7 separate regions of the Homo sapiens genome follow, and regions 2, 3, 4, 5, 6 and 7 are each linked to region 1. The links are contacts of gene promoters, found by promoter capture Hi-C in blood cells and fetal thymus (Javierre and others, 2016). All regions are on one chromosome and are shown on one strand. Each heading gives the region's core, a stretch centred on a gene start or on the middle of the fragment in contact. The rest is flanking DNA. Distances are from core to core; before and after follow the strand shown.

Region 1 (3,931 bases), core at 406-2,905:
CCTGGAATGAAAAAGGCAAAGAGGCAAAATGTGCAAGGGCCCATCTGGAACCAAGGTTTGTTGATCCCCTGGGCCGTGTGCACCCTGAGCTGGGCCTGGTAGTGGAAAGGAATGAAGGCACTGCAGTCAGGCAGCCTGGGTTCATCCCCCAGCTAGTGGTGTCCTAAGGAACCGGCTCCCCAAAAACATCCCTGGCTTGTAGTGCTTGCCAATTTCTGGGTGTCAAGACTCCCACTGCTGCTGATTTCAGGATACCAGCATGATGCCACTGAATGCAGAGTTTCGAGATGTGCATGGTCTGCTATGTTGAGCCAGGTCTAGCATACCGCTGTGCCCTGCTGTGTTTTAGGGGAGATGGGGAAACCTGGTGGGTAAGAGCAAAAGCCCTGGAGTCAGGCTGTCCAGGCTAGAATCTCAGCTCTGCCTCTGGCTGAGCAAGCTTGGGCCATGCCCTGATCTCTGCCTTCAGTGCCTTTTCTGTAAAGTGAAGGAAATGAGTGTCCGACGGGGAGGAGGTTCCTAAAAGGGAGCAGGGTCTGGGGAGCCCAGGCCTCTGGGGTTGGGTGACTGAGAAGGCAGCCCCTGAATACAGAGCAGAGCTGAAGGTGGGGCAGTAAGTGCTGCTGGGAGAACAGGCAGCACAGGCTGAGTTGGTGCAGAAGTGAGTCAACATATGTGCCATCGTATAAAATGTACTCATCGGACTGTAGATGTTAGCTATTACTATTACTGCTATTTTATGTTTTATAGACAGGGTCTCACTCTGTCACCCAGGCTGGAGTGCAGTCACACAATCATAGCTCACTGCAACCTCAGCCTCCTGGGCTTAAGCGATCTGCCTCAGCCTCCCAAGTAGCTGGGACTACAGATGTGTGCCACCACGCCTGGCTAAATTTGTTTAAAATTTTTTTTGTAGAGATGGGGTCTCCCTATGTTGCCCAGGCTAGTCTTGAACTTCTGGGCTCAAGCGACCCTCCTGCCTTGGCCTCCCAAATTGCTGGGATTACAGGCATAAGCCACTGTGCTGGGCCATATTACTGCTGTCATTTATGGCCAAAAGTTTGCTCAAACATTTTCCAGTTACCAGAGCCACATCTCAAGGGTCTGACACTGGGAAAACACCACGTGCGGATCGGGCACACGCTGATGCTTGCCCTGCTCAGGGCTATCTAGTGTTCCCTGCCAGAACCTATGCACGTGTGGTGAGAGCTTAAAGCAATGGATGCTTCCCCCAACATGCCAGACACTCCTGAGGAGCCTGGCGGCTGCTGGCCATGCCCCGTGTGCATGTAGGCGATGGGGAAGTGAGTGGAGGAGAGCGGAACCTTGATTCTGCTCATCAAACTGCTTAACCGCTGAAGCAAAAGGGGGAACTTTTTTCCCGATCAGCAGAATGACATCGTGATGGGGAAAGGGCTCCCCAGATGGCTGGTGAGCAGTGTGTGTCTGTGACCCCGTCTGCCCCACCCCCTGAACACACCTCTGCCGGCTGAGGGTGACACAACCCTGTTCCCTGTCGCTCTGTTCCCGCTTATCTCTCCCGCCTTTTCGGCGCCACCACCTTCTTGGAAATGAGACAGAGCAAAGGGGAGGGGGCTCAGACCACCGCCTCCCCTGGCAGGCCCCATAAAAGCGACTGTCACTCGGTCCCAGACACCAGAGCAAGCTCAAGACCCAGCAGTGGGACAGCCAGACAGACGGCACGATGGCACTGAGCTCCCAGATCTGGGCCGCTTGCCTCCTGCTCCTCCTCCTCCTCGCCAGCCTGACCAGTGGCTCTGTTTTCCCACAACAGGTGAGAGCCCAGTGGCCTGGGTCCTTAGCAGGGCAGCAGGGATGGGAGAGCCAGGCCTCAGCCTAGGGCACTGGAGACACCCGAGCACTGAGCAGAGCTCAGGACGTCTCAGGAGTACTGGCAGCTGAACAGGAACCAGGACAGGCACGGTGGCTCATGCCTGTAATCCCAGCACTTTGGGAGGTTGAGGCAGGCAGCCCACTTGAGGTCAGTTTGAGACCAGCCTGGCCAACATGGTAAAACCCCGTCTCTACTAAAAATACAAAAGTTAGCCAGGCTTGGTGGCAGGTGCCTGTAATCCCAGCTACTCGGGAGACTGAGGCAGGAGAATTGCTTGAACCCGCAAGGTGGAGGTTGCACAGTGAGCTGAGATTGCACCACTGCACTCCAGCCTGGCAACAGAGCAAGACTCCATCTCCAAAAAAGAACAGAAATCAATGAAGCACCGAGTGACAGGGACTGGAAGGTCCTAATTCCATGGGTATTTACGGAACCCCTACGCCGTGTGGAGTCTTATTCTAGACAGTGGGGACGAGGCCATGAACAAGGTAGATGAGAGAGGAGATTTCTCCATCCTGGTCAGGGAATTTGTTAAAGACTGATGAAAACATGAATAAATAATTGTGTCTAGTACATTCTATTCGTGAATCTCATAACAGACAGTGGTAGAGTGACCGTGACCCATTCGCCACACAGTAGAGTCACTTTTTTGGTTTGTTTTTTAGAGACAGGGTCTTCCTCTGTTGCTGAGGCTGGAGTGCAGTGGTGCAGTCATAGTTCACTGCAGCCTCAACCTCCTGTGCTCAAGCAATCCTCCCACCTCAGCGTCCCAAGTAGCTGGGACAGCAGGCACATGCCACGGGTTGGGGGACCACAGGCATGGTCAAGGGGCTGGCAGTCAAGCAAGTGTTTCATGAGAAAGTGACAGTTGACCTTCGTCTTGGAGGGTGAGAGATGGAGGCAGCAAAGACCTAAGGAGAGGACAAGCCAGCATAGCCCAGGGTCAGGCTGAACAAGAGGAGATGGTGGGACTTGGGGATAAGGCTGAGGGGTGGGCAGTCCCTAAGTCTTGTGGGCAACCATGCAGACACTGATTTTTCCTTGGAATAAAGAGGAAGCCCCCATAAGCTTTTTTTTTTTTTTCTGAGATAGGGTCTCGCTCTGTCGTTCAGGCTGGTGTGCAGTGGCATCATCTGGGCTCACTGCAACCTCCGCCTCCCGGGTTCAAGCAATTCTCCTGCCTCAGCTTCCCGAGCAGCTGGGATTACAGGCGGCTGCCACCACGCCCGGCTAATTTTTGTTTTTTTAGTAGAGACAGGGTTTCACCATGTTGGCCAGACTGGTCTTGAACTCCTGACCTCAGGTGATTCTCCCACCTCGGCTTCCCAAAGTGCTGGGATTACAGGCGTGAGCCACTGCGCCCAGCCTCCTGTAGGTTTTTAAAATGGAGAAAACCACAATCTCACTGGCCATGTTTTAAAAAACTTAATCTGCCAGTCAGGCACCATGGCTCACACCTGTAATCCCAGAGTTTTGGGAGGCCAAGGTAGGAAGATCAGTTGAGCCCAGGAGTTCAAGACCAGCTTGGGCAACACAACCAGACCCCACCTCTACAAAAAATTAAAAAATTAGCCGGGTGTGGTGGCGTGCACCTGCTGTCCCAGCTACTCGGGAAGCTGAGGCGGGAGCATCGCTTGAGCACAGGAGGTCAAGGCTGCAGGGAGCTATGACTGTGCCACTGCACTCTGGCCTGGGCAACAGAGGAAGACTCTGTCTAAAAAACAAACAAAAAAAGTGACTCTGCTGTGTGGCAAATGGATTGAGGGGCAAGAATGCAGGGAGGTGTGTTAGGAGGCTGGCACTGGCATCCAGGCAGGGGAAGGTGATATCCCAAAGAAGAGTAGCAGCTGTGGAAAGAGGAGGAGGCGGATCTGGGAGGTTTTTTTTTTTAGGAAAAGCCGCCCATGGGAAGGTGAGCAGAAGCAAGAAAGCAAGGCCCCTCCTAAGAGTCCATTTGAGCTCTGGGTTTAAACCACTTGGAGAGGAGCAGGTTGCCGGGAGCCAGTCTCAGAGGTCCACTGGGCCCCCTGCCATCCTCTGCACCCCCTTCTGCTTTCACAGACGGGACAACTTGCA
Region 2 (3,931 bases), core at 1-2,500, 240 kb before region 1:
CCCGTCACCTTCCCCCCATTCCCGTCCCCGAATCTTCGAGCCCGCTTTCCAGGGACCCTACCTGAGGGCCCACAGGTGAAGCCACTTAGTGCCTGATCTGTGTCGGGGTTGGGGGAGCCATGGGCTCAGGGGTGAGGGAGAGTGGAACGGAGCCAGGAAGGGAGGGGGTGCCGTGGAGGGAAGAGAATCGAGGCTGATGCTGGGGTGCAGGGGTGGCATGGGGTGTGTGGTGTGCCCAGCAGTGTGAGTCTCTGGAGAGGTGGGCGCTGGGGAGAAGGAGAGGGAAGGAGAGACGGGTATGGATGGAAAGGCAGAGGAAGCCAGGCTAAACCAGCGTGTCCCAATGAGGGGCCCTGGGCTGAGTGGAGGAAATGGGTGCGGTGGAGGTGGGTTTGGCTGGGCACAGCGGGCACGTGTGGGTAAGCGGGTGGGGCCGGTTGTGCGGGTGGCCTATCTGGGGCAAGCAGCCGAGGCCGACTGTGTCCGGCGTGTGGTTGAGCACGGGCAGGTGTCTGGCGGTGACCCTGCACGTCTGGTGTTTACCTGGCCCTGGGTCTGACGTGGGCCGCGCCTGGCTGCTGGCGGGACAGTGTGTTATCTGCCTGCGGACGCTTCCGGCCACTTGGCCTGGGCCTCTGCCCTTAGCGCTGTGTTTTCCCGGCCAAGCCCCCCATCCCCCCTATCTAGTGCTAGGACTTTCTGGCTCCAGAGGTCACCGCGGCCGGGCGGAGGCTGCCAAAGCAAACCAGCCCCGTGACTTGTAGGAAGCCAGCGGGGGAGGGGCCGGGGCAGGATGAGCAGGGCAGGCGGGAGAGGCTGGGGCTGGGGTTGGGGCCCAGGAATTGGGCAGGGAATTAGGCAGAGGTGCAGCAAGTGGCGGGCACAGCCAGGACCTGGGGCTGGAGGACGCAGAAAGGGCGGGGGGAAGGGTTCGCTGGGTGAGGGTGGAGTGGGCTTAGGGCAGCTGGGGCCCTCCATCTGATCTCTTCTGGTCAGACCCCCACCCTTCAGCCTGCACTTTCTCCCTAAACCCCCAGCCTCCGGCCAGGCCTGTCCCTGTTCCCACATCCCCGCAGACAGGCACACCTGGGTCCCCCTGGAGGTCCAAGGCAAGCCCCGTAGCTGGGCCCGCCTGGTCCAGCCCCCACAAGCCCGGCCCCATCAGCCAGGTGGCCTCCAGTGCTGCCAATCGAATGGTCCGGCCCCTCCCCGCCCCTTCACCCGCCCCTCGCCCAGCCCCCTCCTCCTCAGGTGAGGCAGCCTGGCCTAGCAGGCCCCACGCCACCGCCTCTGCCTCCAGGCCGCCCGCTGCTGCGGGGCCACCATGCTCCTGCCCAGGCCTGGAGACTGACCCGACCCCGGCACTACCTCGAGGCTCCGCCCCCACCTGCTGGACCCCAGGGTAAGGACAAGGGCCCCCAGACTCACAGTTCCAGCCCTGAGGACAGGGGTTCCCTCATCCCCCCACCCAGCCTAATGCCCACCTCCTAATAGAGGGGTTCCTGGGGACCTGAAGAGGGGGCACTATGACGTCCCCCCAAGCACCTAGGTGTTCTGTCCTGCTCTTCCTTCAGACTCAGCCGTTGGACCCCAGTCCTTTCCTCCCCAGACCCAGGAGTTCCAGCCCTCAGGCCCCTCCTCCCTCATACTAGGGAGTCCTGGCCCCCAAATTCCTCCTTTCCCAAGACTTATGATTTCAGGTCCTCAGCTGTCTCCTCCCTCAAACCGGGATCCTCAGTCCCCTGCTCCACCAGGCTCAGGCATGGGGGTCCCCATCCCTGCAAATCCAGGCGTCCCCCCGCTGCTGGTCAGACACTGACCCCATCCTTGAACCCAGCCCAATCTGCGTCCGTGATCACGGCGTGCTCTGGCCAAGGCCCAGTCCCTACAGCCTGCCTGGATGGACGCCTGGGACTGGGGGCGCCAGGACTGGGCTGGGCTGGGCTCCCCCAGGCCCTGCCTCCCCGTCCATCTCCTCACAGGTCCCACCCTGGCCCAGGAGGTCAGCCAGGGAATCATTAACAAGAGGCAGTGACATGGCGCAGAAGGAGGGTGAGTCCCCTTCCCTGAGCCCCAGCTTTGGCTCTGCCTGGCGCCCCGCCCTCTGTGCTCTTTTCTCTACCCTCTACTCTTCGGAGCCCCCTCTCTCTGGGCACCCCTCCCAGATGCATCCCCACCCCTGTTAGTCCTCCTCCACCTGATTAACTATTAACCACATTTTCTGTGCAGCTGTGCCACCACCAGCCTCCCTTCTACCCTATGTGACCTTCCTGGCGTGCTGCCTCAGTTTCCCCTCATCCCCCAGTGATTTCTCAGCTAACTCTGGACTTGTCCTCTGCTGGGGCTGAGGCGGGGAAGCTGTAGCTGTCATGGTTAAGGACACAGATTTGGAGTGAAACACACAGGCTTGCATTTGAATTTGCTCTTGCCATCTTTTTTGCTGTGTGATCTGGTGCAAGTGACATTATTCTTAGGGCTTTGGTCTCCCTCTGGGTCAAGCATGGATACCAGTCCTCCCTCTGTGAGGTTGCTGAGTGCATGACACACACCAGGCACTGGTCTGGGGCTCTGCATATAAGACGCATGCCATCAAGCAGAGCTGTCATGACAGAGGTTGGCAAACTCGGAGTCCCAGAGACCCAGGACCCCCACCGATCCCAGACATTCCTCCACCTCCTGGCTCTGTGGGCAAAAGAGCAGAGGGAGGACTTTGGACTGGGCCTGGATGGATGGAGAGGGGAGAGACGGCAGAGAAACCACCATAAGGATGAGAGAGAGAGACTGCGTCATGGAGTTGCTGGCCCTTGGGAGTCTCTGGGCAGCCCCCAGCTAGCCTGGCTTCCTTTCTACCTCTCACACATGGGACCCAGCTGGAGGGGCGCATGGAGGGGCGTCCTGTTCTTTCTGCCTTCCCCTAGCTGGGGCTGACTCCCTCTCTTCTTCCGCAACCAGGATAGCCGGGCTCAGTCCTGGGCAGTAGCACTTTCTAGCTGTGTGGCCCTGGGCAGACGGCGTGTTCTCCCTGGGCCTCCATTCTCTCATCTGTGAAATGGAGAGGGTGACAGTGCATGTCCAACAGCGTGGGGCGAGGCCTGAAATGCCAGGATGGGCAGGAAGCACTGAGCGTGTTGGCTGAAATGATTAGTTCAGATCTCTGGCCTCCTCGGGTCTCGGCACAGCTGGCAATTCAGACCCCAAACCAATCAGCTGCAGTCCAGAGGGAACCCAGGCTCCCAGTTACTCAGGAGAAGGCATTGCACCCTAGCCGAGCAGGTGGATGACAGAATCCAGCTCCTTGGGGACAATCTCTTTCCTGGAGCTGCCGGAAGGACAGCCCCAGGGCTTGGGCCCATGGGTGAATGAGCCAGGGAAGAAAAGCAGAAAATGCCCGAATGGACAGAGATGGCCTGGGTACAAAGAGAAACAGACACAAAGTGGGCTCTGGTGCCTCCCTGGCAGCTCCGGGCTGGTCTTGGAGGGGAGTCCTGCTGTCAGGGCTAGGGGTGTGGAGGTCGAACCTGGACACAGATGCTGAAGGGTTCCGATTCTGCACTTACTTGCCGGGTGACCCGGGTTTGGTGGCTGCCGGACTTTGGGCCTCCTTTTCTCATCTGTAAACTGGGGGTGATGGCAATGGCGCCTTCCTCGTGAACAGCTGCAAGGATTTAAGTAAGGATGCTGTGCAGGACTGGACGGGGTTAGGGTAGGGCGGTGCGTCCGTGTGTGATTCAGAGAGCCGTTGTGGCTGCAGCGGCTGCTGTTGTTGGTGTCACTGTTATTGCTGCTGGCTTCTTGGTGCTGCCTGGAAACTTGGAATTGGAGGAGGTGATACTGGAGTTGCAATTCCAAGGATGCCAGGCAGAGGGAAGAGCAAGGCTCTTGCTCTTCTCTGGGAAGCTGGGAGGTGACACAGCACTGGTGTGCACGTAGC
Region 3 (3,931 bases), core at 652-3,151, 230 kb after region 1:
CCCCTCTCCACTCACCCCAGAGTTGCTGGAGCCTCCACCTGAGCCAGATGGTGGGGGATTCGTGCACTGTCGAGGGAAAGGGATGGTGAGTTTGGGGACGGTGAGTTTGGAGACGTTGGCCTCGGCCATGGACACAGGCCAGGCCTCTCCCATTCTTTGGGGCTTGGCTTCCTTTCTCCTAATGTGTTTCTCCCACCTCCCCTTCCCATCTGCCTCCTCCCCAGGCCCAGGCCCGTCTCTTCCTCCTTTTTTTTTTTTTTTTTTTTTTGAGACAGGGTCTCACTCTGTTGCTCAGGCTGGAGTGCAGTGATGCGATCTCGGCTCACTGCAACCTCCATCTCCCAGGTTCAAGTGATTCTCCTGCCTCCGCCTCCCAAGTGGCTGCAATTACAGGCGCATGCCACTATGACCGGCTGATTTTTGTATTTTTAGTGAAGACAGGGTTTCACCATGTTGACCAGGCTGGTCTTGAACTCCTGACCTCAGGTGATCCACGTGCCTTGGCCTCCCAAAGTGCTGGGATTACAGGTGTGAGCCACCTCGCCCAGCCCCATCTCTTCCTCTCACCCCAATCCCTCCACTCCCCCATCTTGCTTTCCTCTTTGTCTTTCCCCAGCTCTCTGTAGCCTGCACCCAGTGGCTTCTTCATTTGTTCCCAGCCCCTTCCTCTTACCCCTTCATTCTGGTTGCTGGCTCTCACTGAACCATAGCCAGGCTGGGCCACAGCTCCCTGCAGAGAGGGTGAGACTGAGAGTAGGATCCAGAGGGACCAGGGAGGCACGCGGAGCATGTGGGCTTGGAGGGAGGGAGGTGGCAGGTAGCAGGTCTGGGGGTGACTTTACCTGAGTGTTGGTCCCAAAGTTTGGTGGCCCTCCATTGCCTCCTTGACCCCAGGGAGCTCCCTGAGGATTCATTCCAAAGCTGCCTGCTGAGTTTCCGGGGTATCCGTGGACCCACGGAGTCCCCAGACCTCCAGGATTGCCCTGGCCCTGGCCTCCAAGGCCACCTTGAGAGCCAAAGATGCCATGGCCTCCAGAAGTTTCCTGCAAGAACAACATACCTGCACTTAGTGGGACCATCTCTGACCCTGGTAGAGAAGAGCCAGGGCAAATCATAAAGAGACCAGGAGAGAGACAGGCAGAGGGACTCCAGGGTGGCATAGGAGGGGGGCAGAACATAGAAGGAAGCTGCCCCAGAAGCCTGCAAGTAAGAGATCCATCCATCCTTTCAACCGTTTCCCAAGAATCTCAGCCCAGCAGCCCACAGCCTCCCATTTCCACATGCAGCCCCACAGCCACTCACCCAAGCACCATTGTGGCCAGGCACCCCCTGCCAGGAGCCGCGGACAGCATCTGCTCCGTGTCGAATGACATCTTCTGCCTGTCTGCCAATCTCGTGCCCAGTGTTTCCCAGAGCATGGGCTGCTTCCCCGACCCTGTTGCCCAAAGCATCTGCTACGCCAAAGCCTGGAACCTGCCTGACTCCAGTGCCAACTGCTTCTCTGGTCCCTTGGCCAAGGGCCTCACTGACTTTAGAGCCAGCTGCCCCTCCGGCCTCTTTGCCAATGGCCTTTCCCACCCCTTCGCTCAGGGCGTCTCCCAGGCCATGTCCAAGGGCCTCCCCAATATTTGTCCCAGTGCTTTCCTCTCCGCTCTGCAGGGGGCCAGCCTCCCCACTGCCCAGGCAGAGGGCCAGCAGGAGGCAGGCCAGGGGCCCCTGGAACTTCATCTCTGCCCAGCCCCCTCTCTCTCCAGAGTGTCTTCCTCCCACCAGGGTCTCCTCCTTGCCGCCCTTGCTCTGCGTCTCTGTGCCCTCCTCTGTCCTCCTCCTTCCGACTCCCTGTCCTCCCTCCCTCTGGGTCTGCAGCCTTCTCTCTCCTGTCCTCAACTGCCTGGGCTTCTCAGAGTCCACCTCCCTGTCACTACTCCTTATACTCTAGGTTGGGAGAAGGTGACAGGGCTGGGCAACCTGAGGTCCCTCCCCGCAGTGACTCAGGGCCCAGCCACCAATAGGGTAATCAGCTGTTATTGTGAGTCTGAGAGTCTCTGTCGAAACAGAGAGTGAGCCGCATCAGGGAGGGAGGGAGAAATGGATGAGGTGATGCAAAAGTGCTCCCATTTCCCAACCCCAGGCATTCGGGGAGCTGGGTGGGGGCAGGGGCATCTAAGGAGACAGGTTGTCGTTGGCTCCTGGAGGCGGTGGGGTGGGGGCAGACTTAGAAGAGAGGAGTTACTGGCAGGACCCCACCAAAGGAGTAAGGACAGGGAAGCCCCAGGGGACAGGACCCACCCAGGCTCAGCCAGCCTGGCTCAGGGGCTCCAGAGTGACAGGCATTGCCCGTCCTCGGCCTGGCCTTTCTCGGTTTCAGCACCTCAGCCTCTCCTCTCCCTCTCCCCTCCCGCATTGCCACCTACAGGTGACTGCCTTCTTGTTCCTCCACACCTTCCAGCCCACAGAGAGAGACTGGCAAACACGGGGCTGCGTGTCAGTTTCTGAGATTCTGGGGAGAGCCCCCGGGGGGACCCTCGGTGTCGGGGAAGGAGGTGGCCATAGCCCTTTGAGTGGTCAGCAGGGTGTCTCAGCGTTCAGGCTGCTCCCGGCTGAGAAAGCTGGGCGCGGAGCAGGGCAGCCAGGCGCGCCAGCCACCCCCAGGGAACGAGTGGGAGGGAAGGCCAAGGGAGGGAGCCGCTGACCCAGGCACCCATCCTGTTTACGCAGCCCTAGAGGGGCACGTGTGAGTATAAGCGCCTATGAGGGGCGGGACTGGGCCAGCTCACCCCACCCATCCCCCAGGCCAGGGGCCAGGGCAGCAATGGCAAGCGAGAAGAGGGTAGCGCAAGGTCAGGAGCCATCCGTGAGAGCCACGGCCCTCTCCCCAGTCCCAGCTCGGGATACAGAACCTGGGAGCCTCCCCCCGCCTCACCCCTGCCCAGCAAGTGTGGCTGCTTCTCTATTCCCAGGGGCCACAGGGCCTCCCACTGTTTCGTATCACTGGGGTTCATCGCCCAGTTAGGAGGGGCCAGTTTCCATCAGCCTTTCTCAATGTCTCTCAGTCAGTCTCTCTCTTCTCTCCACCCCAATATCCGCACCCCAGCTTATAACATCCAACACTTCTTACCTTGTAAACACTATCCCCATCTGTCCTCCTCAGCTCCTACTTCCCTGTTATTCCATCTCTGACTCGTTAATGATGATAATAGCGATGGTGGTAATAATAATAATAATAATAATAATAATTACAGCTCCAGCTTATCAGCGGTTCTGTATGTACCCAGCATTGGACTAAGCACAAGCAGTTTAAGAATTATACAACTCTGGGAGATGGTTCTTTTTTTCTAGAGACAGGGTCTTGCCCAGGCTGGAGTACACTGGCACAATTGTAGCTCACTGCAGCATCGACCTCCTGGGCTCAAGCGATCCTCCTGTCTCAGTCTCCCAAGTAGCTGGGACTATAGATGCACACCAGCACACCCAGCTAATTTTTTTTTTCTTTTTGAGACAGAGTCTTACTCTGTTGCCCAGGCTGAAGTGCAATGGCACGATCTTGGCTCACTGCAACCTCCGCCTCCCAGGTTCAAGTGATTATCCTGCCTCAGCCTCCCAAGTAGCTGGGATTACAGGCGCATGCTGGGCCTGTAATCCCACGCTGGGCTAATTTTTGTGTTTTTAGTAGAGACAGGGTTTCACCATGTTGGCCAGGCTGGTCGTGAACTCCTGACCTCGTGATCTGCCTGCCTCGGCCTCCCAAAGTGCTGGGATTACAGGCGTGAGCCACCGCACCTAGCCTCCAGCTAATTTTTTAATTTTTATTTTTGTGGAGATGAGATCTTGTTGTGTTGCCCAGGCTGATCTCAAACCCCTGGGCTCATACGATCCTCCTGCCTTAGCCTCCCAAAGTGCTGGGATGACAGGCATGAGCAAACAGTGGTAT
Region 4 (3,931 bases), core at 721-3,220, 210 kb before region 1:
AACTCTTTCCCAATCACTGCAGAAAAAGTCCCAGGCAACAACAACAAAAACCCAGGCCCAGCTCCCATTGTACAGATTTGGGTCACGTGCTCATCCCTTGGCAAATCACTGTGCACCGGATGTACGCGGTAGGGGTGGAGCGGGGTGGAGTGGGAGGCGCTAGGCCTTCAAGAATCGTGTGACCTGAGTGTGGGAGTCCCAAAGGAAATAGGGTGCTATTTCCAGAAGTGGAAATAGATGCTCAGTGAGCAAAAAAGACATCTACCTTGAACCAACACGGAAAACGGGGCCCTGTAAGGTGGAGATAGGGAGACGCTGGGAACACAGCCTGAGACCCTCCCCCAACCCCTTTCTCCATCTGGGCAGCTTCTGGGGAGGAACCCCCTTCTGTAGAGCCTCTGCAGAGCCTCATGCAGCCCCGATGGCCACCAGGGGGCACTGCTGCCCCAACATTGTGACACATTAAGGGGTTTCCTGCCTGGAGTCAGCCGCATGTTGCTGAAAACCTGCTGTTCTGCTGAAGAAAGGCTCAGCGGGGGAGCCTGTTCACCATGACTTTAAATAATAACAATTATCATACATCACCCATGGACCACAGCTTCCAAGCAATTTCCTTTTTTTTTTTTTTTTTTTTTTTGAGACAGAGTTTCACTCTTGTCTCCCAGGTTGGAGTGCAGTGGCGTGATCTTAGCTCACTGCAACCTCCGCCTCCTGGGTTCAAGCGATTCTCCTGCCTCGGCCTCCCGAGTAGCTGGGATTACAGGCGTGCCCCACCACGCCCAGCTGATTTTTGTATTTTTAGTAGAGACGGGCTGTCACCATGTTGGCCAGGCTGCTCTCGAACTCCTGACCTCAGGTGATCCACCTGCCTCGGCCTCCCAAAGTGCTGGGTGTCACGCGCATCCATGTGAAGAGACCACCAAACAGGCTTTGTGTGAGCAATAAAGCTTTCTAATCACCTGGGTGCAGGCAGGCTGAGTCCGAAAAGAGAGTCAGTGAAGGGAGATAGGGGTGGGGCCGTTTTATGGGATTTGGATAGGTAGTGGAAAATTACAGTCAAAGGGGTTTGTTCTCTGGCGGGCAGGGGTGGGGGTCACAAGGTGCTCAGTGGGGGAGCTTCTGAGCCAGGAGAAGGAATTTCACAAGGTAATGTCATCAGTTAAGGCAGGAACCGGCCATTTTCACTTCTTTTGTGATTCTTCAGTTACTTCAGGCCATCTGGATGTATACATGCAGGCTTGGGCTCAGAGGCCTGACACTGGGATTACAGATGTCTGCTGCCACACCTGGCTAATTTTTGTATTTTTAGTAGAGACGGGTTTCACCATGTTGGCAGGCTGGTCTCGAACTCCTGACCTCAGGTGATCCGCCCACCTTGGCCTCCCAAAGTGCTGGGATTACAAGCCTAAGCCACTGCACCCAGCCCAGCTTCCTAAAATATAGATGATCTACAAGAGCTCCTTTGAGAAACTGACAAACTGTGCATTTGGAAAACGATCCCAGCGTCACTCCCCGATCCCCACACCCCTGGCGAGGTTGAGCCCCACCACTGCTTTGTTGGTCAGGAGCCCCCAGGCCCACATCGTGTTAGCAGAGCCTCAGTGCAGTTTCCCCAAACGTCTACCTCTGGCTGTGGTGTTCTACCCATGGCATGTGGGATGTAATTTGAGACCTGACCTACGGCTTGCTTTGTTAGAAACGTATTGAGTTACAACACGGAGTGACTGAGTTTTCCTTTGTAATTGCCAGCTGAGAAATGTACTGTACCTGTGTTTTAGGAAGTCTGGGGACTCTGAGAGAACATGGTCCACCCTGGGGGTTCTAAACTGAGGTGACCATGTCCTGGAGGGACACAGTTTGCTCTGGTGAGGAGAAGGGCGGGTGTGAGGGGCACTGAAGAAGGCATGGCCCTGCCCTGGGAAGTCTGGGGGGGATGTGGCCTTATTCTAGGGGATCTGATGGAAATTTGGTCATTAAAAGCCAACAGGCATCCTGCTGGGAAAATAAAAACCAGGTGGCCATGTTATTGGAAAGGGGTCCTGATCCAGACCCCAGGGGTTCTTGGATCTCGTGCAAGAAAGAATTCATGGCAAGTCCACAGAGTAAAGTGAAAGCAAGTTGATTAAGAAAGTAAAGGAATAAAAGAATGGCTACTCCATAGACAGAGCAGCCCCGAGGGTTGCTGGTTGCCCATTGTTATGGTTATTTCTTGATTTAGTCTTGATTTATTATTTAGTTATGCTAAACAAGGGGTGGATTATTGACGCCTCCCCTTTTTAGACCATATAGGATAACTTCCCAACATTGCCACGGCATTTGTAAATTGTCATAGCGCTGGTGGGGGTGTAGCAGTGAGGACAATCAGAGGTCACTTTCATGGCCATCTTGGTTTTGGTGGGTTTTCCCGACTTCTTTACTGCAGTCTGTTTTATCAGAAAGGTCTTTATGACCTGTATCTTGTGCCGACCTCCTCTCTCATCCTCTGACTTAGAATGCCTTAATTTACCGGGAATGCGGGCCAGCAGGTCTCCGCCTTACTTTACCCAGGTCCTATTTAAGATGGAGTTGCTCTGGTTCAAACGCCTCTGACAGCCATTCTGAGTTCTGTCTGCACTGTTGCTTTGTTGGAGGAGTGGAGGGGCTGGGGAGATTGTGATTCACTCAACAGCCATTCACTGGTTTCCCTTGTATGCCAGGGGTCAGTGAGCCTCAGTTTCTCCTCCTGCTCCCAGCAACCTTGCCACTCACCCCAAAGAGCTAGGAAGATATTTAAAAAGAATAATAACAGTCACAAGGTTGCTTTCAGTTCCTGCCAGGGTCTCAGTCTTCAGAAAAGCTGAATATGAAAATTACTTCCATGTCATTGTGGTGCCGCTCAGAATCAGAAATATTTGACCCATCTTACAGAATTAGTGCAACTACATCAGGAACCCAAGCCAAGTTTTGCATTCCTATTTAGCATTTATATCTACATAGTCCTTTTCAAATATAGAAAAGCTTTCTGGATGTTAGTTGGAACAGATAGCTCCATATGTGGTTATAAGTTGGCATTCTCCCAGCTGGGTTGAAGGAGAAATGTACAGCTACTCTGCCACAACAGTTATTTCATACATAAAATCACAGCCATGATTAGCAATGATGGTGAAGGCTATTCATTTTATATTCAGAAATAATTATTGTGAACATTCAGATAGCAGCATAAGTAGGGAGATGGACTTTAGTTTCTGCATAAAAAGTAACACTGTTTCAATCCTGCAGTTATGAAGCGAGGAGCTGTTTTGGCTCTTGCTGCATGACATACCACCCAAAGCTAGTGGGTACAGTAAATGCTCATGGATTCTGCAGCTCAGAAAGTTGGACAGGGAACAGCAGGCACAGCTTGTCTCTGCTCCCTGATGACCAGGTCCTTAGCTAGAAAGCCTAAAGGAACAGGGACTGGAATAGGGAGGCTTCTTTTGTTTGTTTGTTTTGAAACAGGGTCCCACTCTGTCGCCCAGGCTGGAGTGCAGTGGTGTGATCATGGCTCACTAAAACTTCTACCACCTGGGCTCAATCGATCCTCCCAACTTAGCTTCCCAAGTAACTGGGACTACGGGTGTGTGCCACCATACCCAACTAATTTTATTTTTTTTTTGTAGAGATGGGACTGGTTGCCCAGGCTGGTCTTGAACTCCTGGGCTCAAGTGACCCTCCTGCCTCGGTATCCCAAAAGGAGGCTCTTTACTCACAAGTCTAGTATCCGGGCTGGGATCACTCAAAAGCTGAGCTCAGCTGGTACTGTGGACTCATTGTCTGGCTAACTTGGGCTTCCTTCCAATATGGCTACCCAAGGACATTTGAACTTCTCACGTGGTGGCTCATGGCTCCAGAGTGAGCATTCCAGCAGACACTGGCCTTTACACCCCAGCCTCATTTCTGCTCCACTCTGTCA
Region 5 (3,931 bases), core at 545-3,044, 210 kb after region 1:
TCAGGAGCTGTATCTTGATCAGCTTTACATCCCCCTAGAACCATGGCTCACACAGAACCCAGGTAGAGTCAGCATTGGTCAGATATGATACGTTAGACTTAGTATTCAGGCATCCTTCAGCCACAGTGTACATTTTCCTTTCATGGGGCTGAACCTTTCCATTTTCCAACTGCCCGTCTTTTACTCTTGGGTCTTCAGAGAAATGACTGTCTTGAGCTAAGATGACAAGGAACAGGGAACAAAAAACAGCTCTTAGGGTGCCCAGTTGGAGATGGGATCCAGGTACCCTGAACCTGGAGTGCCCACTCCATGTCATTGCCCTAACCCACCTTGCCCCACCCCCAGTTTGGAAGTTGGATCACCTCACTGTGACACAATGTCCTAGTCAAGCAGCCTTCTCCACAGTGAGGTTCAGGTGGCCAAACCGGCTCCTGCTGTAACAGGGAGGGGCTGGGACATGGACCGGCGCTGTCAGGGAAAAGCAAGACCTTATCAACACAACCTGATGCAATGCACGGTGGCGGTGGCCCTGGGTGGGAGGGCTGGACGGCATCCATGAACAACCTTTACGAACCCCAGAAGCTGGGCACCTCAGCTCCATCCTCACGCTGCCCCCACACCCCAGTCCCAGACATCCTCTTCAGCCTCCTCTGATTTTATAATGGCAGCTTCCCCTTTGCAGAGCTACCTGAGGGAACACTGCTTAGAGAACACTCCCTTAGCCCAGATGGCCACACAGTAGTGGATGTCACAGAGTTGGTGCTCCTGGAGGGGACGAGTTAGAGAATGACTGAGGTGGGTGGAGCACCTCCCAAAAGGTTTTCTGGAGGACACAAGTTCTGTGTAATGAATCCTTGCTAATTAACGAACAGTGACTGAAAAAGCTCATTAGCCACCATTCCATCCGCATAGGGTCGACTCCAGGGAGTGAAGAATCAGACAAAAGAGAACTGATGTTGTATAACCAGCTACGATTTGACAGGCGGGTGAGGGGACCCAGTGCCAGTTTTGGCCTGGGTGATCTAGAGCATCGGTCAATCCAACGCTGTCTTCTGTTTTGCTCTAGAGTCTAATCTGTGATTTTCCTTTGACAATAAATTGCCCTCCCTATGTTTTCCTCTCCACCCGATGGTATTGATAACAATGTTAGCTGAGTTACTGAGGCTTACTATATGGCAGACCTTGTACTAAGTGCTCCAAATACGCGATCTCATTGAAATGTCCCAGTGATTCTGACACAGGTGGGTACTATAATTATTCACATTCTATAGGCGGGGGAACCACAGCATATAGAGGTTAAATAACTCACCCCAGGTCACACAGCCAGAATGTGACAGGACCAGCATTAGAACGCTGGGCTTCCAGAGCCTGAACCTATATTGCTCCTCTCTATGCTGGACAGGCTATGTTACAGCACATGTAACACCCTGTGTGAATTAGACCCATGTCCTGAGAGTGGGGGGCAGACTGCATCGAACCCCCACAGGTCCCCTTTACAGTGTCCATTGTGGTGCATAGCCTGCACCATCAGAGGTGGCAGCCCCAAGCATAGGTGCATTCATTTAAATGAATCAAACTGCACACTCTTGACAAAATGAAAACGAAGAATGAAGGTTAGTGGCATCAGCCCCCGAATGAACCTGTGATTGCCTCCGTTTCCAGATGCCTCCAGTAGTATAATCATCTTGCCACACCAAGTATGTGTTTACAGATAGGGTTCCGTTTCTGGATCTAGTGTTCAACATTCTGCTGTTTAAAAATAGGTACTTTTTGTATCATACCTCTAAACACAGGCCAACTGCTTTGTGTGCTCAACCAAAGAAATTCTCTTCCTATGCTGGAAAAAAAGCTGTCTGTGTTGGACTCATGATTTGTTTCCACTTGGCATCTTCCTGGCACCTTCTGAGGGTAGTTTTTTGGGGTTTTGTTTGTTTGTTGTTTTTTGTTTTTGAGACAGAGTCTTGCTCTGTTGCCCAGGCTAGAGTGCAGTGGTATGATCTCGGCTCACTGCAACCTCCACCTCCCAGGAGGAGTGATTCTCCTGTCTCAGTCTCCCGAGTAGCTGGGATGACAGGCGTGCGCCGCCACACCCAGCTAATTTTTGTATTTTTAGCAGAGACGGGGTTTCACCATGTTGGCCAGGATCGTCTCAAATTCCTGACCTCAAGTGATCTGCCTCGGCCTCCCAAAGTGCTGGGATCACAGGAGTGAGCCACGGCGCCCAGCTAGTTCCATCTTGACGTGATTTTTGCTGTAAGCGGCCAACTTTAGAAGCCAGTGTCTCTCTCCAAACTCCTCCCTCTTCCTCCATCTACGCTGCCTGAGTAGTTTGTGTTCCCTGAGTTGGGTTGGGCAGATGGGGAAAGAGAGGGGCAGGGAGTTCTCCCTGGGAGAGGGTCCCAGCAGTTCAGGTGATGGGCTGCAGGAAAATCTGCCCGATACGCAGCTCAGCTTTGGATGAATCACGGAGGGTTAATGGAGTCAGGCAGCCGCAGAGACTGGCTCTGCAACATCACATCTCCAGGTCGGCTTGACTTCCTAGCTCCCTCACTGAGAATACCAGTAAACCTCTGTTTTCCCACAGGCCTGCCCCCACCCCACCCCAAATCTGCCAGAACTTGAGTGTGGGTAGGAGGCGAGGCCCAGCCTGGATTGCCCCATTGTGAGACACACCTAGGGCCTGGCAGCCAGCCTCCTGGGTCTAGGGAGGGAGTGGGGATTCCAAGAGAGAGACACTAGGTTTTCGGGGCCTTGGCGAACACTAGGTGGGAAGCCGGGAATCCTGGGAGAGAGAGGGGACTGGGATGTGGAGTATTAGGGGGCAGAACTCAGGGCATCCCTGTCCCATCCCTTCCTCCCTCCGTCGGTGTTGTCACAACCAAGAAAGCAGCCTCATCCACCAGCAGGTGTGGTTTCTTCCTTTGCCGCCCACCCTATGTGCCCGGTGCTTAAACCTCTCCCAGGAAGTCTTCCTGGATTGGTCCCACTTAATTCCAATCCCTCTCTCCATTGGCTAATTTGTAAATATTTATTTGGCTCTTGGTACTGGGGGCTGTAGATGGACAAAAGACCTGCCCTACAGATCCCATGTCCTAGCGAAGGAGACATCATAATGTAACCAAAAATAGATACGCAAACAAGATGACTTCAGAGAAGGACAGGTGCTGCGAAGAAAACGGGGCCATATGATGCTGACAGGGTTTCCTTGGTCGATGGCCTGAGGGCCGAGTGCGGTGGCTCGCACCTGTAGTCCCAGCACTTTAGGGGGCTGAGGCAGGAGGATCACTCAAGCCCAGGAGTTCCAGACCAGCCTGGGCAACATGGCAAGACCCCGTCTCTATTAAAATACAAATTTTAAAAGGTGGCCCAGGGAGGGACATTTGAAATTAGTCCTAAAAGCAGATGAAGCTCTGGCTTTCTGAAGACCTTGGTAACAGCCGCCCATGTTCCCTGATGGCCTGTGCCAGTAGGCCCAGAGGGACGTTAGAGAGGGAGGCCAGGCCCATCGCATAGAGCCGTAGTGAGGAATGGGGATTTTATTCCAGGGCTAATGAGAAGCTGGTGGTAGGTTCCGAGCAGGGGCTCCTTCTAGGGCGTTGTGGAAGAACGGGATCTAAAGAATAAGATGGAAGTTGGGGATTCAGGAGGTCACTGGAGGAGCCCTGAAGGGAGAAAGGGGTACCCACCCTTCACTGGAGGGCCCCTCATGCCAGGGGACCTTAGCCTGCCTCGGGTGTCACTCTAAGCTTTCAAGAGCCGCTTTCAGCTCTTTGGGCCAAGAACATCTCACGAGCCAAGAACCGTGTTGCTCACCTCCGCGTCTCCCCCGGTGCCTCAGTGACTGGGCTGAGGAGACTTCAGCTCCCCACGGGTTTCCACCCCCACCCACGCTCCGGGAAGCTCTCTGTGCAGCGAGGACGGAGCGTCCTCC
Region 6 (3,931 bases), core at 966-3,465, 180 kb before region 1:
GGAAGGAGAGACCGGGAGCCATGTAGATACAAGGGGAGAGTGTCCAGGCAGAGGAGCAGAGGCTGGAAGGGTGCCTGGTGTGTTGGAGGAGTGGTGGGGAGACCCGGGGAGCTGGCGCAGAGTGGGCAGATGAGTGAAGGGGTGTGTGAGACAAGATGAGGACAGAGGGGACAGAGGTTTATTTTGTGGGACTGCCCAGGCCACGGTGGCGAGTTTGGATTTTCTCCAAGTGTACTAGGGAGGTATGGAAAGGTTTTGAGCAAAGGAGGGATAGGATCTAATGTGCGATTTCAAAGGGCTCCTTGGGTGCTATGTGCAGAGTGGATCTCAGCAGTGGCAGGAGCAGGGGCCCAGGAGGGGCAGGTGTCTGGACGTGGTTGCCCGACGTAGCCTGGGTGTCTGTGTTCCAGGTGAACGGCTCCCAGGCTGGCCTGCCCCTGACTCTGGCTGGGGGGCACACTCCAGGCCTTCTTCACGCCCTTGGCCATCACAGTCCAGGTGGCACCCGGCCTCTCCATGACCTTTCACGAATCCCATGCCCTCTGAGTGGCAGTGCCTGAGACCTACACCAACACCCTCTGTGGCCTGGGCGGGGACTTCAGCGTGGATACCCAGGATGACTTCAGCGGCTCTGATAGCACATGGCTCTCTGATGCCAACAGCTTAATGGGGGCCCAGCCCCTCTGTGCCCACCAGACAAGGCAGCCCTATACCAGGCCTTCTGTGGCTTGCTGGGCACCCAAGATGGGCCCTACAGGGCCTGCAGTAAGGACGTGGATCCCCAGGTGCATGTGGAGAACTGCATCCATGACCTCTGTGCCACGGGGGGCTCAAGAGAGACTCTGTGTGCCATACTGGGGAGCTACGCCCAGGAAAGCCAGCAGCGCAGCGTTCCCATGCAGCCCTGGAGACACCTCTTGGCCTGCAGTAAGTGGGTATTCCCAGGGAGGGTCTTTCTCAGCCTGACCTCCCCAGCTGGCCCAATACCACTTCCAGGATGTCCTCCTAGGTCAACACCACCCAAAGTGACCCACTGCATGCCTTTCTGGCTAACTGTTCCCGCGAAGAACCTACCTGCTTAAAACTCTGCAATAACAATAACAGATGACACTGAGTGCTATTGCATCAGTCAGGATGGTCTGGGTTATGCTGAAGTAACGAACTAACCTGAACATGACCCAGCATGACCAAGGTTGTTTCTTCATCACTATCTTCGTCACCTTTGTCATCATCACAGTCACTATCATCATTACCGTCACCATCACCACCACCACCAGCGTCACCATCACCACCACCACCAGCCTCACCACCACCACCACCACCAGCATTACCATCATCACCACCACCACCATCACCACAAGCATTACCATCATCACTACCACCACCATCATTGTTACCACAACCACAACCATCACCACCATCACCATCATCATTGTTACCACAGCCACAGCCATCATCACCACTACCATCACCACCATCATCACCATCACCACCATCACCATCATCATCACCACCACCACCACCATCAACATCATCATCACCATCATAACCATCACCACCAGCATCACCATCACCACCAGCATCAGCATCACCATCACTACTATAATCACCATCACCATTATCACTACCACCACCATCATTGTTACCACAACCACAACTATTGTCATCACCACCACCACCACCCTCACCACTATCATCACTGTCACCATCACCGCTATCATTACCATCACCATCAACACCATCACATCACCAACAACATCACCAGCCCTACCACCATCATCATCATTACTATCACCACGACCACCACCACCACCATTATCACCACCATGATCACGCCACCAGCATTATCACCACCGTGACCACGCCGCCACCGTTAATCACCGCCGTGACCACGCCGCCACCGTTATCACCGCCGTGACCACGCCGCCACCGTTATCACCGCCGTGACCACGCCGCCACCGTTATCACCGCCGTGACCACGCCGCCACCATTATGCTACATCCTGATGATGCCTCCACCTCCCCTCCTTTGCCTTTATGACTTACCCTTGGCCCCCACAACCCTCTCTCCGCTCCCTTGGTCCTATTCTGGTTGGAAATGCTCCAGAATAGTAATGCTTGCTCAATTATTTAACTCCTACCTGTTTTCTTCCAGAGCTGGCCTGTCCTCCCCGCAGCAATTACGAGCTCTGCGGCTCCTCCTGTCCTAGCTCTTGTGCCGAGCCTGCCCTGCCCGACAGCTGCCTGACACCATGCCAGGATGGCTGCCAGTGTGACCCAGGCTTTGTGCTCAGTGGCATGGACTGCGTGCCCCCAATCCAGTGCAGCTGCTCCATGGGGGGCAGGTACCACCACCCGGCTGGGGAGGCCTTCTGGACTGGGGAGCGCTGTGAGCAATTCTGCCACTGCCAGGCCTCCACCCACGCCGTGTGCTGCTCCCCGTCCTCCTGTGGGCCGGGGCAGAGATGTGAGACCCTCAGGGGCATCTTTGGGTGCCACCCACTCTCCCCTGGCATTTATCAAGCAACCATGCACTCACACGTCGCCTCCTTTGACCGGAAGAGTGTTGAGTTTCCAGGCACTTGCGCTTCTGCTTTTACCAAGTCCTGTGGCTCCTCCAGCTCATTGCGCCTTTTCAAGGTGGAAATTGGGAAGGAGAAACAAGTCCAGCAGTCCCATTGTGTTCATTTCAAAGATGTAGGTTCATGGGACCCAGGTTTGTCTGCAGAGAGAGCCCCGACCTGATGAGGTAAGCACTCATTGGCATCTAGAGACTCTTGAACCGATTGAAGCTAAAAGAAATACATTGGCTCAAACTAAGTAAAAATCATGTGATAGCCTAGTGAAAGTGTAGAGATTCTGGGTCCACAGAAGTTCCCTATATACCACTTTGGCTGTTTTGGTTACAGAAAGCCTCATAAAAGGTAACTCAAACCAGTCACAGACTGTGTTTTATGATTTTTAGACTAATTACATAACTGAAAATTCCAGAGGGAGATCAGGCATGGTTTGATCAGGGTGCTAACTCAGTTTTTCAGCATTTCTCTTGGTCTGTGTTTCTCTATAGCATTAGCTTTGTCCTCAGGCTGGCTTTTCTTGTGATGGCAAAATAACTGCCAATTTTCCAGTCATTAAATGTGTATTCCCCATTGTCCAAAACCCGAATCTTTTCTTACCCCAAGTACTCAACAAAAATTCCAATGCTTCACTTTGATTAAACCCCACTGAGCCAATCAGTGCAGCCCAGAGGTTTTCTTAAGCCTATCTAATCCTACTCAGGAGTTGTAGGTGGGAGAGATCCTGCCCCTACCCCCCATCTCTGGCAGCTACTTCTTGCAGGGAGAGAGGGCAAAATGGGAATCCACCCCTGTGTCCCTATGTCCCCCGAAACCAGTATTTCTTCTTAACAATCTTCAAAGAGTGTAAATGCCCTGGTAAACCTCCACTCTGAGACCTGAAACTTTTGTCTAGAACCCACAGGGGTGGATGTGTTTTCTAGGCCCGAGGGCCCCTGCCTACAAGAGTTCCATTGTTGGCTATTGGAAAACACACAGCCACACCCCTCCCACTCCACCCCCTTCCAGGAAGGGAACCAGCTTTCAGAATTAGTCATGCTGTCAGCGTCCCACACAACGAGCCCATTGACTCCAAAGGGCAGCACAGCAGATGGACTGCTATTATCCCAGTGGTACAGATGGGGAAACTGAGGCCCGGGAAGGCAGACTTGCTTGCCTAATGTCGCATAAGGAGAAAGTGGCTGTGCTAGGATTGGAACCCAGGCTGTCAGGTTCTGAGCCCTTCCCTTTCTGTCTGTGGGCCTACTGTGTGCTCCCAAAAAGCTGTGGCCAAATTAAGGAGGTGGCATGTCTGATTCATCTGTGGCGGGGCCTGGGATATATAGTAACTCTCAACAATGGTGTTCATTAGTCCGG
Region 7 (3,931 bases), core at 750-3,249, 160 kb after region 1:
AGTTGAAGACTTGCCTGGCCAACATGGCGAAACCCTGTCTCTAATACAAATACAAAAATTAGCCGGGGGTGGTGGCAAGCATCTGTAATCCCAGCTACTCAGGAGGCTGAGACAGAAGAATTGCTGGAACCCAGGAGGAGGAGGGTTCAGTGAGCTGAGATCACGCCACAACACTGTAGCCTGGGAGACAGAGCAAGACTCCATCTAAAAATAAAAATTTTAAAAAATAATAAAAATAAATAAATTTTAAAAATACCGTGTGCAAATGATGAAAGGCAAGACACAGAGTCTCTCAGAAGAATAGAGCGTCCAGAAATAGTACCACACACACATACAACCAATGGGTTTTTAGTACAGGTGCCGCGGCAATTCAACAGGGAAAGGAAAATCTGGAATAATTGGATAAGGAGGTAAAAGCTTCTTAGGACATAAAAGCACAAACCATAGAAGAAAAACCAGATAAATTAGACCTTGTCAAAATGTAACACTTTTTTGCTTTTCAAGAGACAATTAAGAAAATGAAGACCAGGCACAGTGGCTCATGCCTGTAATCCCAGCACTTTGGGAGGCCGAGGTGGGCAGACTGCTTGAGCTCAGGAGGTCGATGCCAGCTTGGACAAAATGGCAAAACCTCATCAGTACAAAAAATAGAAAAATTAGTCAGGCATGGTGGCAGGTGCCTGCAGTCCCAGCTACTTGGAGGGCTGAGGCGGAAAGGTCACCTGAGCCTGGGAGGTCAAGGCTGCAATGAGCTGTGATGGAGCCACTGCACTCCAGCCTGGGCAACAAAGTGAAACTCTGTCTCAAAAAAAAAAAAAATTAAAAGAAGAGAAAAGTCACAGAATGGCAGAAAATATTGGTAATATATACATCTGACAAATGACTAGTACCAAGAATATAATAAAGAACTCTCAGAACTCAACTATATGAAAATAATCCAATTTTTCTTTTTTTTTTTTTTTTTTTTGAGACAGAGTTTCACTCTGTTGCCCAGGCTGGAGTGCAGTAGTATGATCTTGGCTCACTGCAACCTCTGCCTCCTGGGTTCAAGCGATCCTCCTGCCTCAGCCTCCCTAGTAGCTGGGATTACAGGCGCCCGCCACCACGCCCAGCTAAATTTTGTATTTTTAGTAGAGATGAGGTTTCACTATGTTGGCCAGGCTGGTCTGAAACTCCTGACCTCAAGCAATCCACCCACTTCAGCCTCCAAAAATGCTAGGATTACAGGTGTGAGCCACCATGCCCAGCCTAAAATTTTTTAAATGAGCAAAATATTTAAACAGACATTCCACGAAAGAAGATATACAAATGGCTCATAAGTACTTGAAAAAATGCTTAACACCAATAATCATCAAGAAAGTATAAATTAAGACCACAACAAAGGCCGGGTACGGTGGTCCACGCCTGTAATCCCAGCACTTTGGGCAGCTGAGGCGGGCAGATCACCTGAGGTCAGGAGTTCAAGACCAGTCTGGCCAACATGGCAAAACCCCATCTGTATTAAAAATACAAAAATTAGCCAGGTGTGGTGGCACGTGCCTGTAATCCCAGCTACTCAGGGGGCTGAGGCACGAGAATGGCTTGAACCCAGGAGGTGAAGTTTGCAGTGAGTGGAGATGGCGCCACTGCACTCCAGCCTGGGCGACAGATCGAGACTCTGTCTCACACACACACACAAAAATACCATGGCATACTTATTAGAATGCCCACAATTAAAAACTAACAATTGTCAAGTGTTGGTGAGGATGTGGAGCAACTGAAATGCTCGTAGGCTGCTGGTGGGAATGCAACATGGCACAGCTACTTTGGAAAACTGGTAGTTTCTTAAAAAGTTAATAAAACGTTTTACCATACCACCTGGCCAATACACTGCCAGGTATTTGCCCAACAGCACTGAAAACATTTCCACACAAGAATGTTCTTAACAGCTGTATTCATACTAGACAAAAACTTTTTAAAAAAAACCCAAACCAACCAAATATCCATCAACAGATGAATGGATAAATAAAATAGGAAATATCCTTAAAACAGAATACTATTCAGCAATAGAAAAGATGCTTAACCTGTAAGAGGGGAATCGAAATCTAGGAGGTCAGGGCCTTTTTTTTTTTTTTTTTTTTTTTTGAGACAGAGTCTTGCTCTGTCGCCCAGGCTGGAATGCAGTGGCGCAATCTTGGCTCACTGCAACCTCCGCCTCCTGGGTTCAAGTGATTCTCCTGCTTCAGCCTCCTGACTAGCTGGGATTACAGGCGTGCGCCACTATCCCGGCTAATTTTTGTATATTTAGTAGAGACGGGATTTCGCCATGTTGGCCAGGCTGGTCTCGAACTCCTTACCTCAGGTAATCCACCTGCCTCGGCCTCCCAAAGTGCTGGGATTACAGGTGTGAACCACTGTGCCCAGCCAGACAGGGATTTCTTAAGGAAGTAAATGGTTATCTGAAAGAAAGCTACAAATTAACTGTGAAAGTTGGAATGGGTAACAAGAAATAAAGACATACCAGGCAGGGGCTGGTTCAAGCTCCCCATGGCAGATGGAAAACATGACACATTCACAGAAGTGGAAAATGGCCCTGCCCAGACAGCAAAGAGAGAGAAGAGTGATGTGAGTGGAAGCTGGCAAGGGCCATGCTAGGCAGGCCTTTTTAAGGATGTTGATATTTCTCCTAAAAGCAGTGAGAAGTCTCTGAAAGGACAAGAAGGTCGTATAATTGGATTGACATTTTTAAAATGATTCCACTAATACAGTATGGAGAACTGACTGCCAGGGAAGCAGATGGATGAGAGGAAGTGAGTCAGGGCCCTGCTGAAATCCTGGTAGGGATGATGGCACTGAGATGGGATGATGGAGATGGAGACGGATGGATGGATTCATATTTGGAATCCATAAGTATTTGGGGAGTACATCAGACTGCATTCTAGGGATAAGGAAGAAGATAATATTGAGATTCACTTTAAGACTGACTCTAGTCAGGCTCAGTGGCTCACGCCTATAATCCCAGCACTTTGGGAGGCCAAGGCGGGCGAATCACTTGAGGTCAGGAGTTCGAGACCAGCCTGACCAACATGGTGAAACCCCGTTTCTACTAAAAATACAAAAATTAGCCGAGTGTGGTGGCACATGCCTGTAATCCCAGCTACTCGGGAGGCTGAGGCATGAGAATTGCTTGAATCTGGGAGGCAGAGGTGGCAGTGAGCCGAGACTATGTGCCACTGCACTCCAGCCTGGGCGACAGAGTGAGATTCAGTCTCGAAATTAAAAAGAAAAAAAAAAAAGACTGACTCTAAGATAATGGTGCAGGAGATGTGATGGGAAGAGATCTTACGCCCCAAGACAGGGAAGGGTGGAAGAAGGAAGATCTGAGGCCAGGTCTGGACACATTTGATTTGGTTGATTTGGGACACCTGTGAGACACCCAATGGCAGTGTCAACTAGGCAGTTGAGCGTGTACATGTGAAGCTCACAGAAACCTAGGGTGAAGATTCAAACCAGGGGTGTCATGAAGGTGGTAACTGGAACTACGGAAACAGTTGCAGTCGACTAGAAGGAGAGCACAGGCGAGAACAGGAAAGAACCTGGAGCCAAGCTTGAAGGAAGTCACCATTTCGGGGATGAGTAGGGGAATGGTGAGCTAGCAAAGGGGTACGAGAAGTGACCAAAGGAAAGAGAGGGAAGCTAGCAGCGTAACGTATCAGAATTTGTGAAAAGAGGATGTTTCCAGAAGGGCGTGGAAATTGTGTTGAATGCTAATAAAATAAGAAAAGCGTAAGTCCACTGAATTTAGGAACATGGAGGTCACTGCTAACATCGGGAAGAGAAAATCCCATGGAAAATAGGCACAGAACCCAGATTAGGGTGGACTGAGGGGCGAGTGAGAATTAAGAATGTGGAAGTGATTACACAGAACTTTAGATAAGGGTCCAACTTCCTG

What was found. The method cuts DNA at HindIII sites, captures the fragments that hold promoters and counts their contacts. A CHiCAGO score of 5 or more calls a contact.
Region 2: the fragment with the promoter of HPN here is called in contact with the fragment with the promoter of HAMP in region 1 in 6 of 17 cell types (naive CD8 T cells, naive B cells, total B cells and 3 more); the score reaches 9.6 in naive CD8 T cells.
Region 3: the fragment with the promoter of DMKN here is called in contact with the fragment with the promoter of HAMP in region 1 in 14 of 17 cell types (monocytes, naive B cells, total B cells and 11 more); the score reaches 13.0 in monocytes.
Region 4: a fragment that was not itself captured here is called in contact with the fragment with the promoter of HAMP in region 1 in 1 of 17 cell types (naive B cells); the score reaches 5.1 in naive B cells.
Region 5: a fragment that was not itself captured here is called in contact with the fragment with the promoter of HAMP in region 1 in 15 of 17 cell types (total B cells, naive B cells, M1 macrophages and 12 more); the score reaches 22.3 in total B cells.
Region 6: a contact is called between the fragment with the promoter of HPN-AS1 here and the fragment with the promoter of HAMP in region 1, in 6 of 17 cell types (total B cells, naive CD4 T cells, total CD8 T cells and 3 more). The highest score is 7.3, in total B cells.
Region 7: a fragment that was not itself captured here is called in contact with the fragment with the promoter of HAMP in region 1 in 9 of 17 cell types (total B cells, monocytes, naive B cells and 6 more); the score reaches 14.2 in total B cells.

Annotation. Positions count from the first base shown.
Region 1 is chr19:35,280,873-35,284,803 of GRCh38, forward strand. HAMP (hepcidin antimicrobial peptide) reads left to right here and starts at 1,656. Exons shown (of 3, transcript NM_021175.4): 1 at 1,656-1,795; 2 at 3,917-3,931. The coding sequence starts at 1,706. RefSeq lists enhancers at 82-131, 1,518-2,027. The HindIII fragment of the contact is 2,484 bases long and covers 438-2,921 here.
Region 2 is chr19:35,040,471-35,044,401 of GRCh38, forward strand. HPN (hepsin) reads left to right here and starts at 1,251. Exons shown (of 13, transcript NM_001384133.1): 1 at 1,251-1,402; 2 at 1,983-2,052. The coding sequence starts at 2,037. RefSeq lists an enhancer at 1-722. The HindIII fragment of the contact is 15,827 bases long and covers 1-3,931 here.
Region 3 is chr19:35,511,748-35,515,678 of GRCh38, forward strand. DMKN (dermokine) reads right to left here and starts at 1,902. Exons shown (of 16, transcript NM_033317.5): 1 at 1,303-1,902; 2 at 843-1,043; 3 at 674-730; 4 at 16-66. The coding sequence starts at 1,728. The HindIII fragment of the contact is 13,607 bases long and covers 1-3,931 here.
Region 4 is chr19:35,066,862-35,070,792 of GRCh38, forward strand. The region is part of intron 3 of HPN-AS1 (HPN antisense RNA 1); the gene reads right to left. Among named protein-coding and RNA genes, the nearest start is that of HPN, 27 kb to the left of the region's middle. RefSeq lists enhancers at 1,014-1,699, 1,700-2,385 and a silencer at 3,770-3,931. The HindIII fragment of the contact is 2,050 bases long and covers 946-2,995 here.
Region 5 is chr19:35,491,578-35,495,508 of GRCh38, forward strand. LOC124904703 (a long non-coding RNA gene) reads right to left here. Exons shown (of 2, transcript XR_007067242.1): 1 at 3,814-3,931; 2 at 3,015-3,613. Among named protein-coding and RNA genes, the nearest start is that of KRTDAP, 3.1 kb to the left of the region's middle. RefSeq lists an enhancer at 3,269-3,931. The HindIII fragment of the contact is 3,900 bases long and covers 1-3,744 here.
Region 6 is chr19:35,104,089-35,108,019 of GRCh38, forward strand. It overlaps HPN-AS1 (HPN antisense RNA 1), which reads right to left and starts at 2,216. Exons shown (of 4, transcript NR_024562.1): 1 at 2,141-2,216. It overlaps LOC124904701 (hepatitis A virus cellular receptor 1-like), which reads left to right. Exons shown (of 3, transcript XR_007067238.1): 2 at 411-2,748. The HindIII fragment of the contact is 15,680 bases long and covers 1-3,931 here.
Region 7 is chr19:35,442,329-35,446,259 of GRCh38, forward strand. No RefSeq gene overlaps it. Among named protein-coding and RNA genes, the nearest start is that of FFAR2, 4.0 kb to the right of the region's middle. RefSeq lists enhancers at 1-163, 3,886-3,931. The HindIII fragment of the contact is 3,169 bases long and covers 416-3,584 here.